Linked DNA regions of Homo sapiens: region 2 is linked to region 1. Evidence: promoter capture Hi-C in 16 types of primary human blood cells and fetal thymus (Javierre and others, 2016). All regions are on one chromosome and are shown on one strand. Each heading gives the region's core, a stretch centred on a gene start or on the middle of the fragment in contact. The rest is flanking DNA. Distances are from core to core; before and after follow the strand shown. Region 1 holds the start of RTN4IP1 (reticulon 4 interacting protein 1). Region 2 has its middle 24 kb from the start of CD24.

Region 1 (6,529 bases), core at 1,631-4,130:
CAACTGAGTAGCCTTGGCTCACTGTTACTATCTAACAAGCCCCTGAACCCAGAATGTAGTCAGCTGGCAGTTAGTAATTGAGAACCTGTTTGGTGACACGGATGACTGAATGGGGCCCTTAAGTGTTCCATCCTATTGACAGGGGTTGACACCTTGACTTGTTCAGAGAGTTGGGCCAATTTGAAAAATCCTAAATCTGTCATCAGTTTAAAGACTTTAATCCCATCTAAAGACACCAAACTTTGTTGGTATGATGCTGTTGGCTGCATTTTTTCCCCATGTAAAAATTCTTCATTTCTTTAGCCATTTCTATGATTTATTATTTTACGTCCAACAGTAGTGGCCGTCTCCAGAAAAACAGCCAGCCTTCATCTTTCAAATAAAATAGACATGTCTCTTGCTTTCTTGCCAAGGGAAATAACTGCTTCCTACAGTTTACAGTCTTCTACTCATTATTTTATTTCCCCAAGCTACTGTTTCAGATATCTTCTGCAATGACAATAAATATCCTCAAAAGGTAGGAGAAAAAAAAAAAGAGGATAACTTGCGAATAATATTACCCATTCAAGTCATAAAAAACTAAGATGTTTCAAGAATACTATATAAAAGTAAAATGTTTTACAGTGTTATATTATTAAACAGCAGCCAAGAAAAGTCTAGATACAGCCATTCTGTTTAAATGAAAATGTACACGGCATGAATTACGCATGTGCATTTAAAGAAATAAAAAGCTAACAGACCTAAACGAAGACAAAATGTAAAAATTACTCATAGATAAAATACTGCTAATTTAAGTTTGTTATCTTAAGTCAGAACAAAAATATAAAAAGGCATAGAAATAGTGACTGAATGACAACTGCGTATGTGAAGCACTGAAACAGGTTGACAAAGCATGGGATCAATCTTGAAAGAACTTACAATCAAAGGAGATGAAAAAACATGCTGATCATTGAGTAAAACTTACCACTAAAAGACATATCTTATAAAAAACTGAATTCTCTTCAAGCCTAATATAAAAAGAATAAAGGAAAACGGCATGCCCAACTGGTAGTAGCAATTACTACTTCAAAACAAAGAATACAAACGTAGACTTCATGAGACAATCACAGTAAAGTCATTTCAATGCTTTTTTTTTTTTTTTTTTTTTTTTTTTTGAGATGGAGTCTCACTCTATCGGCAGGCTGGAGTGCAAGGGCGCGTTCTTGGCTCACTGCAACCTCCGCCTTCCGGATTCAAGCGATTCTCCTGCCTCAGCCTCCCACCAACACAGTGAAACTCCCGTTTCTATAAAAATACAAAAATTAGCTGGGTGTGGCGGCGCATGTCTGTAGTCCCAGCTACTTGGGAGGCTGAAGCAGGAGAATCGCTTGAACCCGGAAGGCGGAGGTTGCAGTGAGCCAGGAAAGCGCCCTTGCACTCCAGCCTGCCGATAGAGTGAGACTCTGTCTCAAAAACAAACAAAAAACCCCATAAATTCTAAACTGACTAGGAAACAACTATACTTCCGAAGCCTGTGACGGATCTCAGAATACCACAAAGTTCCCTGGACAGAAATTTAGCTACAAACATAGGCAGGGCGCAATGGCTCGTCTGTAATCCCAGCACTTAGGGGGCGGAGGCAGAGGATCGCCTGAGGTCAGGAGTTCGAGACCAGCCTGACCAACATAGTGAAACCCCATCTCTACTAAAAATACAAAAAATTAGCCCGGTGTGGTGGCATGCGCCTGTAATCCCAGCTACTCGGGAGGCTGAGGCAGGAGAAATTGCTTGAACCCAGGATGCGGAGGTTGCAGTGAGCTGAGATCAGGCCACCGCACTCTAGCCTGGGTGACAGAGTGAGACTCAGTCTCAAAAAAAAAAAAGTTAGCTACAGACACAGTTCTCAAGTCTGAACTTACATATTTAAGGACGCATGAAAACAATCAAGCTTATATTTTGTCAATACAAATGGCCAGAAGGATTCCCTGGCCATTGCAATTTCAAAAATTTTGGAAATATTTGCAGAGGTATTGTTAAAAACCTAAATGATTCATTTATGTAAACCAAAGAAGCGTAGTCAATTTTTTAAAACGGCATACCTTATGAAAGTGATTTTTTTAAAAAAGGTAACAATGTCTTTTGAAAACTTACTTCTCATATTAACGTCTATAGGATTTACACTGGCAGCGTGAACTTTGACAATGACTTCATTTGGATAGTGTATGATAGGCATCATCATGTTCTGAGTGAATCGAAGCACTTCATTCTTCCCATATTTATCTATCACCCAAGCAGGCATGACAGTGCTCCTAGGAGAGGTAGTACTAATCCTTCTAACTGAAGGCTTTTGGACAACTTTGCTTCTCCAGAAGCAAACCGCAGTGCATGCATTTCTTCTAAGTACACAAGTCTTCAGAAATTCCATTGTAAACACTGGTTGAACTGCGTGCTCAAATTCAAATACACTTGGACTGGATCAAACTCTCACCCCTGAATTCAGTCAAATTCTGCCAAACCACGGGCTAGTTTCAAAATTAAGCATGCAAAACGGAGCATTCGAAAATGAAGCTAATCTAATGGAGAAACTGAAAGAAGAATACGGAACTGTTATTCCGCTCTTCGCATATGAAATGCTCGAATTAACGTTCCAGTCAGTATTCTGTCCATTCTCCTCCCTCACTTTCACCCCCTCCACTTTAAAAAAAAAAGGGGGGGCGGGGCATTAAAAAGCAGGTGCGCAAACCCCCTAGATCCCTGCCCTGTCCTGGGAGCCCTCGGCGGGACAAGCAGACACCGCTCGCGATCCAACGCCAGAGAATCGAACGCTTGCCGACTGCCGCCGCGACCCTGGCCCGGAATCTCCTTGCCTGCCCGCTCTCCTTAGCCGCCGGGATGGCTTTGCGGCGCCAACCAATCGCCTACAAAGATCATTTCCTCGGGCTGCAATTCAACCAATCCAAGTACTCGGTGTTGAAGGGCTCAGTGACAATTAAAGATGGCTGCGCCCATGTAACATCACTAGCGACCGGTGACCTCTTTTTCCCCCTTGCCTGGCTCCTGTGGTGGCAGGCTGGGCACGAGGACCATGCTGGGCCGGAGCCTCCGAGAAGTGAGTGGAATTGGCCCGCTGAGGCCCCCGGGAGGGCGGAAAGTTTAACGGACTTCGTTGACAAAGAGTCCCTGGGCCTTACCACGCATCTTGGCCCACCTCGCTGCTTCCTCTAGAACTGAGTGGGGGATAAGTACCTTTCGATTCTTCGGGTGTACTCGCCGTACCCATTCAGGAGTTAGGACCTTAGCAGGGAAATCTCTGCACCGCGGATCTGTAGGGTGGTGAAGCGGCTTCTCACCATTAGACATTTGCTCTGGTGTAGGTCGGGATCCGGATGGTCTCGGAGTGGGCTTTGCCAAAGGGGGCTTGCGGGGCCACTTCAGTCTCTCTTCTGTCCCCGACACTTAGCTGCAGTTGTCGCTAAGAAGCCCGGCGAAACTGTAGTTTGCAAAATTCAAATGAGTAATTTTTGGCTTTTTTCAAAGAATTCGTTCTCTAGGATTTACCTACCACTAAGATACCAGTGATTTCCTAACCCGTGTCTCCATGTCCTGGACGTCGTGTTTGAATTCTAGACTGTATTTGTGAATGCTTTCTGGGCAGTTCTTCTAAATGTCACATAAGCACCCTCAAATTCACTTTAATCGGTGTTGAAGTAATCATTGTAACAGGACTTACCTCTCAACCCCCGTCTTAAAAAAGCTCTGGTATTTCTGAATTCTTAATAGACTCTTTTTAATGGCACAACTATTATCTCATTTGCCTTTAGATTCTTCCTCATCTTTCATATCCAATAAATCACTAAGCCCTCTTCATTCTATCTTGCAGATATGGCTGGAATCTGCCCTCTTACGTTATTTCTGCTGTTATAGCTTTAATTCGGGTCTTTTTGCTTCCTGGTTCACGTCACTCAACCTTAGAACTGTCTGCAGGCCCATTGCTATCAGAGTCACATAAAGCACCTGTTGAAACTAAAACTATGCCCCACTCTAGACTTAATTAGAGCTGTGTGGTAAGTTCGGGAGTATGGTTTAATGGAGGCTCCAGGTGATTTCTGGTAAGAAGTAGGCGCTGATGACCTAAACTGCCTTCCATCTTCCTTTTTATTCCACCCTAGAAGTTGTCGTTTTGTTTGTTTCCCAGCTGGCAGCGTGGAATTATAATTATAGATAGCTGTAATATATAATGAGAAATTGAAATCCACAGGCTTTAAATAATAGTTCTTCCCCCAAAATACATTATTATGTTATCATTTTAAATTGCGTCGAATCAAATTTGTTCTTTAAAAAATAAATATGCCCGGCGCGGTGGCTCACGCCTGTAATCCCAGCACTTTGGGAGGCCGAGGCGGGTGGATCACGAGGTCAGGAGATCGAGACCATCCTGGCTAACACGGTGAAACCCCATTTCTACTAAATATACAAAAAATTAGCCGGGCGTAGTGGCGGGCGCCTGTAGTCCCAGCTACTCGGGAGGCTGAGGCAGGAGAATGGCGTGAACCCGGGAGGCGGAGCTTGCAGTGAGCCAAGATCACGCCACTGCACTCCAGCCTGGGCGGCAGAGCAAGACTCCGTCTCAAAAAATAAATAAATAAAATAAAAATAAATAAACAGACAACACCCAAAACTTGTTTTAAAATTAAATACAACCTATAAAAATATGTTATTTCCTTTTTCTGCCTTTTCCACTGTCAATCTAAGTAACAGAAAGAGACTCTAAAGAAAATATTTATTTTGGAGTAGCAATGCAATGGGAATATGTGTAATATTGTAAACTATGTGCCTATTCAAGAAGGTTGAGGCAAGGGATGTTTTTAAAGACAGAATGAGAAGGATTACTTAAATTATTTTGAATCAGTTATCCTTGGCCACAAGGATCAGTCACAAAGGTGGCATCAGTCCAAGGTTGGATGGCCAGTTGCTGGACAGACATTCTTACAGAAGTACTCGTGTGTGTGGAAGGTTGCAATGGCCTTTGTGCAAGGTTGTGTTTTTTGCAGTCTTATGATTGTTTTTAAAAAAAAATTTTAATGGGTACATAGTAGGTGTATGTATTTATGGGGCACATGAGATATTTTGATACAGGCATACAATGCATAATAATCACATCAGAGTAAATGGTGTATCCATCACCTCAAGCATTTATCATTTCTTTGTGTTACAAACGTTCCAGTTATACTCTTTTAGTTATTTTTAAACGTACAATAAACTATTGTTGACTGTAATCACCTGCTGTGCTATCAAATACTGTATCTTATTCATTCTGTCTAACTATATTTTGTACCCATTACCCATCCCCACTTCCCACCCCTACTACTACCCTTTCAGGCCTCTAGTAACCATCATTCTACTCTACCTCCACGAGGTCAATTGTTTTCATTTTTAGCTCCCACAAATAGGTGAGAACATGGGAAGTTTGTCTTTCTGTGCCTGGCTTATTTCACTTAACATAATGCCCTCCAGTTCCATCCATGTTGTTGCAATTGACAAGCTCTCGTTCTTTTTATGGCTGAATAGTACTCCATTGTGTACATGTAGGACATTTTCTCTATCCATTCATCTGTTGGTAGATACTTAGCTTGCTTTCAAATCTTGGCTATTGTGAATAGTGCTGCAATAAACATGAGAGAGCAGATATGTCTTTGCTATGTTGATTTTCTTTCTTTTAGGTGCATATATACGTAGCAGTGGGATTGCTGGATCGTATGGTAGTTCTATTTTTATTTATTTATTTTTAATTATTTTTTTTTTAGAGATGGGGTCTCACTATGTTGGCCAGGTTGGTCTTGAATTCTTGGCTTCAAGCAATCCTCCTCCCTCAGCCTCCCAAAGTGCTAGGATTACAGGTGTGAGCCACTGTGCCCAACCAGTAGTTCTATTTTTAGGTTTTTAAGGCACCTCCATACTATTCTCCATAGTGGCTGTAGTAATTTACATTTCATCCAACTTTTCTCCATCCTCACCAGCATTCATTATTGCCTGTCTTTTGGATAGAAGCTATTTTAACTGGAGTGAGATGATATCTCATTGTAGTTTTGATTTGCAATTCTCTGATGATCAGTGATGTTGAGCACATTTTCATATACCAGTTTGCCATTTATATGTCTTTCTTTTGAGAAATGTCTATTCCAATCTTTTGCCCATTTTTAATTTGATTATTGGATTTTTTCCTGTTGAGTTGTTTGAACTCCTTATATACTTCGGTTATCAATCCCTTGTCAGCTGGAGTGTGATAGTTCTTCTTATCAGGCATTCATGCGTGAGAACCCTCTCTTCTTGACCTTCCTTGGCTCCATTTGTCAGGATTTTAACACAAGTCACTCTATTTTGATTTTGACAACTGTCATAGCTCCTTAAGTGCTACCTTTTTTAGTGCTACTTCTCTCTGGTGTCATTGAGTTAGCCATTGTGAAAAACAACTTTTGCCGCATGGGGGGAGAAAAGAACTATTTAGGAGAGCTGACCCAGGGGAAAATCCAGAGGTTGCCTTGGCATGATT
Region 2 (6,529 bases), core at 2,463-4,962, 370 kb after region 1:
CCTCCCGTGTAGCCAGTACTACAGGTGCACAGCACCGCATTGGGCTAATTTTTGTATTTTTGGTAGAGATTGGGTTTCACCATGTTGCCCAGGCTAGTCTCGAATGAGACCAGAGCTCAGGTGATCTGCCTGCCTCAGCTTCCAAAAGTGCTGGGATTACAGGTGTGAGCCACTGTACCAGGCCGTTTGTTTGTTTGTTTGTTTGTTTGTTTGTTTGAGACAGGGGTCTCACTGTGTTGCCCAGGCTGGTCTTGAACTGCTGGGCTCAAATGATCTTCCTGCCTCAGCCTCCCAAAGTGCTAAGATTACAGGCATGAGCTGCCATACATGGCTGACCCTATGTTCTTTGGTGAATGTTTGTTCACTGTTCTGAGCTATGGACTCTGGGAGAGGCCAACCTGGATGTTTACGCTGTACTTATGAAGGTGTGAAGGCTCAGAGCAGGGACACAGATGGGGGCATGAAGAACACCTGGACCCTGGCCTCGTTCCTTGGAACACAAGTCATACAAGAAGCCAGTGGCCTAGGCTGGGCACAGTGGCTTACGGCTGTAATCCCAGCACTTTGGGAGGCCAAGGCAGGCAGATCACTTGAGGTCAGGAGTTCGAGACCAGCCTTGCCAACATGGTGAAACCCCATCTCTACTAAAAAACATACAAAAATTAGCCGGGCATGGTGGCACGTGCCCACCATGCTACTCGGGAGGCTGAGGCATGAGAATCGCTTGAACCCAGGAGGCAGAGGTTACAGTGAGCCAAGATGGCACCACTGTGCTCCAGCCTGTGAGACAGAGTAAGACTCCTTCTCAAAAAAAGAAAAAAAAATAAATCAATGGCCTTTGTTTTAAGCTAGGTGGAGGTTGCTAAGTAGAGGTTGCTGTGTGGGAGTTCCTACTAACCTGCATGCTTTCCACAAAAGGCAGTGGAACTCCTGTCCAGCCTTCCACTCTTGGACACTCCATACATAAGTCCCCTGAATAAACTCTGTCTTTTTTTTTTTTTTTTTTTTTGAGATGGAGTTTCACTATTGTTGCCCAGGCTGCAGTGCAATGGCACAATCTTGGCTCACTGCAACCTCTGCCTCCTGGGTTCAAGTGATTCTCCTACCTCAGCCCCCTGAGTAGCTGGGATTACAGGCGTGCGCCACCATGCCCAGCTCATATTGTATTTTTAGTAGAGACCAGGTTTCTCCATGTTGATCAGGCTGGTCTCAAACTCCCGATCTCAGGTGATCTGCCCCTCTCAGCCTCCCAAAGTGCTGGGATTACAGGTGTGAGCCACCATGCCCGCCCTAAACTCTATGTCTTACCCACTGTCTTCAGGTCTTTTCTTCGGTCTCTCGGTGACTGTGCCTTCCCAGTTTGCCTGTTTGGGGGCCCAGCACAACACAAGGAAGAACGCAAGCCAAGGTCTTTCTTTGCTTGGATGATTTCTATGCATTTCTCAGGACCCAGATTAGTGTCATCTCCTTGGAAAGCCATCCCTTACCCTTCAGCCTTGGTTAGGGCCTTTCTGAAGTGTCCACCCCTGCATCCCCCAAGTCCCCAAGCTTTCCTCTGTCATTGTACGTGTAACAGGGATTGCAGCTTTTTCCTCACCAGCTGAGCTCCTTAAAGAAAGGAACCACATCATGTTCATCTTCCTTTCCCCAGTACCTAGTAAAGTGCCTAGTACATAATAAGTCCTCAGCAAATGAATTTCTACACAGGAACCACCAGAATCCAAGCACAATGAGAGGAAGGCCACCTTTTACTCTAACTCCGCCTACTCACTTTATCTTGAATTTATTAACATCCTAGGCTAAGAGCCATTTTATATCTCAACAGAAACAGCAATCTTAGAAAATATCTTCAAGTAACTCTTAAATTAGGATACTATTAAGCCTCCTGGCTAATCTTAGAGCCCTTCGATGGTAGTTTTTTGATTTATATAACCAGTTTCTAAAACACATCTTCACTCACTAATAAACCGACACGTATGTGGGTCATTCTTCTGAAATTTGTGTTTTATTCTAACTGTATATGAAGACTTTGATTTGGTTGTACATGAGAATTTAATCTTTCCACTATGGTGGTAATTTTTTATTTGTCTTAGAGCCTCAGATGTGGCCACCCTGGGTACAACAGGGCATATCATTTCTGTCTCATCTGTAACCTACAGGATCAAGCAGACCTGAGCTCAGATTTCAGCTCACCCACTTCCACCACAGACTTGCCTTTCTGAGCCTCCTGTAAAATGAAAATGATCATATTTATGCTGGAGAGTGTAACAGGATGTGAACATGGAAGTCCTTTCTGTCTCCATTTCAACCGAAGCTCAAAGGCCTTCAACAAAACAAGTTCTCAGGTTCCAAAGTGAGGTGCCAAGCGCCCCCTGCAGGAACTGCAGAGCAAAGGCGCTTTCTCCTCACCCCAGTCCAGTGAGAGGTGCTCTTAGGGGAATAACGGGAGAGACAAACACTTATCTCTTAGAGTTTAGTGGAAGAAGAAAAAAGAATGAGAAATTTAAAGGTCAAGGCTGTGCCAGAGCAGGAAAGGGGCTGCATCATGGGCAGCCTGCCCATCCTCCAACGTCAGCCAGAGACACTCAGCTCTACGTTCCAGACGTGGGCTCCCAGGAGAGCTCTCTGGGGTGCATTTTGAAAGGCCCCCAACCTGAGGTGACATTCTGCCATGGGCAAGCCAGCCTCAGCAGGGGCTGGAGGCGTTCCACAGAGCAGAAAGGGGGACGCGGTCGTGTGTGGGGGGCGTCAAAAGCAAGGCAGCAGCATTGCCCCAGTCAGGCCTGTTGCCACACTGGGGGCAGAGGGAAAGCTTTCTCTCTGCCCACTGAAGGTTTGCAGAGCATAAACTGATGAAATGCAGATACACAGGAGAAAAAGGCATACGAAATTTACTTAATGTGCATAGAAGAAAATCACAAGACTATGATTACCCAGTAACCCGATGAGGCCCGGCTGCTTATATTCTTCTCCATGGGGAAAGGGAGACAGGGGTTGTAGGAGTAAATGATTTCCAAAGGAAATGAATGAGCCAAAGAACGATGGCTGGGGACAAAGTTCCTTTGAGCACTGGGGAAGGCGGCAGGAAGGTGAGGGGTGGACTATTACTGTGAACAAGTGTTCTTTTTTTTTTTTTTTTTTTTTGAGACAGAGTCTCACTCTGTCACCCAGGCTGGAGTGCAGTGGCATGATCTTGGCTCACTGCAACCTCCACCTCCCGGGTTCAAGCAATTCTCCTGCCTCAGCCTCCCCAGTAGCTAGGACTACAGGTGCGCACCACAACGCCCGGCTAATGTTTGTATTTTTAGTAGAGACGGGGTTTCACCATGTTGGTCAGGCTGGTCTCAAACTCCTGACCTCAGGTGATCCACCTGCCTCAGTCTCCCAAAGTGCTGGGATTACACACACACATGAGCCACCGCCCAGACCATCAATGTTGTCTTATTATGCAGATAAAGTCTCCCAGGCAATCTCTCAGGGCTGCTGTCAGAAGAATAGTTAAAAGCTCCACCTGGTTCGGTGGCTCACCCCTGCAATCCCAGCACTTTCAGAGGCCGAGGCGGACAGATCACCTGAGGTCAGGAGTTTGAGACCAGCCTGGCCAACATGGGGAAACCCTGTCTCTACTAAATACAAACATTAGCCAGTGTGGATGCAAGTGCCTGTAATCCCAGCTACTGGGGAGGCTGAGGCAGGATAATCACTTGAACCTGGGAATTGGAGGTTGCAGTGAGCCAAGATCAAGCCACTGCACTCCAACCTGGGTGACAGAGGGAGACTCCGTCTCAAAAAAAAAAAAAAAAGAAGAAGAATAGTTGAAGGCTGCGTACAGTGGCTCACACCTTTAACCCAGCACTTTGGGAGGCTGAGGTAGGAGGGCCCTTTCAGCCCAGTAGTTTGAGACCAGCCGGGGCAACATGACAAAACCCTGTGTCTACACACACACACACACACACACACACACACATACACACAAACACAAAAGCCAGGCACACAGCTGTAGTCCCAGCTACTCTGGAGGCTGAAGTGGTGGAGGCTGAGTTAGGAGGATTGCTTGACCCTGGAAGGTAGAGGCTGCAGTGAGCTGTAATCTCGCTACTGTACTCCACACTGGTTGACAGAGTGAGCTGCTGTCTCAAAAAAAATTTTTTTTGGCCGGGAGCGGTGGCTCACGCCTGTAATCCCAGCACTTTGAGAGGCCAAGGCGGGTGGATCACAAGGTCAGGAGCTCGAGACCAGCCTGGCCAAGATGGTGAAACCCCATCTCTACTAAAAATACAAAAATGAGCCGGGCACAGTGGCAGGTGCCTGTAATCCCAGCTACTTGGGAGGCTGAGGCAGGAGAATAGCTTGAACCCAGGAGGCAGAAGTTGCAGTGAACCAAGATCGCACACTCTAGCCTGGGCAACAGAGCAAGACTCTGTCTCAAAAAAAAAGGTTTTTTTTACTAATAATTTAAAATTTACATAATAAAATAAAAATAGATGGAAAGTCTATCTGGGTATGGTGATGACTCCCAGTCTCTTCTATTCTCGGGTAGTTGATCATTCCTGGCTATCTGATGAGGTTCCTAGAGAGAGGGGTCTTAAAATAATTGCATTTATTTTGGAAAGAAGCTTTGTTAGTCAGATAAGGAAATTCCAGAGAGAGTTCCTGGGAAAGAAAGAGAAACAAAGAGACAGAAAAGCTGGGAAAAGTCAAGAGAGGGAACTTGGTTCTGAGGCTTATCTCTGAGGCCTTTCAATTTCAAGAAGTAAACTCCATGAGTTTGAAAGAGTTGGCTTAATCTTCTCAGTGTACACAATCAAATATGTACATAATTATATACGTACATAATCGTATAAATTCAGTGTATATAATTGTATAAATTTATGAAAGTTGTTATCCCCTACTGTTTCCCAGAAAACCCTTGACTCGGAGATGGGAAGAACTTGCATTCATTGTGCACCCCTTAGACAACTGTCTGTTCCATCACACACCAAGGCCTTCATGGACATCTCTGGCCCTGCTGAAATGGAATAAAGAAACTCCCGGCCAGGCGCGGTGGCTCACACCTGTAATCCCAGCACTTTGGGAGGGTGAGGCGGGCAGATTACGATGTCAAGAAATTGAGACCATTCTAGCCAACATGGTGAAACCCCGTCTCTACTAAAAATACAAAAATTAACCGGGCGTGGTGGTGGACATCTGTAGTCCGAGCTACTCGGGAAACTGAGGCAGGAGAATTGCTTGCACTAGGAGGTGGAGGTTTCAGTGAGCCGAGATCGCGCCACTGTACTCCACCCTGGGTGACAGAGCAAGACTCTCTCAAAAAAAAAAAAAAAAAAAAAAAAGTAAGCATTTGGTCTAAATTATGCAAGTCAGATATTAAGTTTACTAAATGCTTTAAGGTCATAAAGTGCTTCTTTGTCTTTTGAAAATTGTTCAATTTACCTACTTTGGAGCATTAGATTCTAAATAAAGACTAGGATATGTGGAATTAGCCATGCCCCCTAGCTATGCAAAGAAGGTTATAAAGAAAAGATTTTAAGGCTGGGTGTGGTGGCTCACACTCATAATCCCAGCATTTTGGGAGGCCGAGGAGGGTGGATTACTTGAGGTCAGGAGTTTTAGACTAGCCTGGCCAACATGGCAAAACCCCATCTCTACTGAAAATACAAAAATGAGCCGGGAGTGGTGTCAGGCACCTGTAATCTCAGCTACTCAGGAGGCTGAGGCAGGAGAACCATTTCAACCCGGGAGGTGGAGGTTGTAGTGAGCCAAGATCGGGCCACTGCACTCCAGCCTGGGCGATAGGGCAAGACTCTGTCTCAAAAAAAAAAGAAAGAAAAGAAAAGAAATAAAAGAAGAAATTTTGTATAAGAAAGGATGTTGTATGGTGAATACTTGTCCTAAAGTAAAATGACTGATTGCTTTAAAAAAGGGAATTTATGCAAGAAATATATAAGTTAAAGGTTTCTGGGTCTCCTAAATGCTTCATAAAATGCCATTAGGACTCTTAACTGTACAACTTTCCTGCTTTACAGCTAGATAAGGCCTGGGACACATGAAGTTAGACAACGAAAAGAGTCAGACCTTATCTGCACTTCTGTCTACTGTCACAGGCTCCACACCTAGCACATAATTAAAAATCTGAACTCAACCAGGCACAGTGGCTCACGCCTGTAATCCCAGAACTTTGGGAGTCCGAGACAGGTGGATCACGAGGTCAAGAGATTGAGACCATCCTGGCCAACATGGTAAAACCCTGTCTCTACTAAAAATACAAAATTTAACTAGGCATGGTGGTGCTACTTGGGAGGCTGTGGGAGGAGAATCACTTGAACCCGGGAGGCTGCGGTTACAGTGAGCTGAGATCGGGCCACTGCACTCCAGCCTGGCAACAGAGCAAGACTCCGTCTAAAAAAAAAATTCTGAACTTACCAAGGTTTTCACCAAAAGTAAAAGTTGCTAAGAGTTAACAGTGTAACATATATTTGGGACTACTAAAAAAAAAGTTATACGTGCAAGGTGTATAGAAAAAGTGAAA

What was found. Contacts are between HindIII fragments. The CHiCAGO score rates a contact against its expected background, and 5 or more counts as called.
Region 2: a contact is called between a fragment that was not itself captured here and the fragment with the promoter of RTN4IP1 in region 1, in 3 of 17 cell types (total B cells, naive B cells and neutrophils). The highest score is 7.2, in total B cells.

What each region holds. Positions count from the first base shown.
Region 1 is chr6:106,626,618-106,633,146 of GRCh38, forward strand. RTN4IP1 (reticulon 4 interacting protein 1) reads right to left here and starts at 2,881. Exons shown (of 9, transcript NM_032730.5): 1 at 2,131-2,881. The coding sequence starts at 2,404. It overlaps QRSL1 (glutaminyl-tRNA amidotransferase subunit QRSL1), which reads left to right and starts at 2,961. Exons shown (of 11, transcript NM_018292.5): 1 at 2,961-3,088. The coding sequence starts at 3,065. RefSeq lists enhancers at 2,963-3,102, 3,133-3,192. The HindIII fragment of the contact is 4,979 bases long and covers 1,926-6,529 here.
Region 2 is chr6:106,995,434-107,001,962 of GRCh38, forward strand. No RefSeq gene overlaps it. Among named protein-coding and RNA genes, the nearest start is that of CD24, 24 kb to the left of the region's middle. The HindIII fragment of the contact is 1,804 bases long and covers 2,811-4,614 here.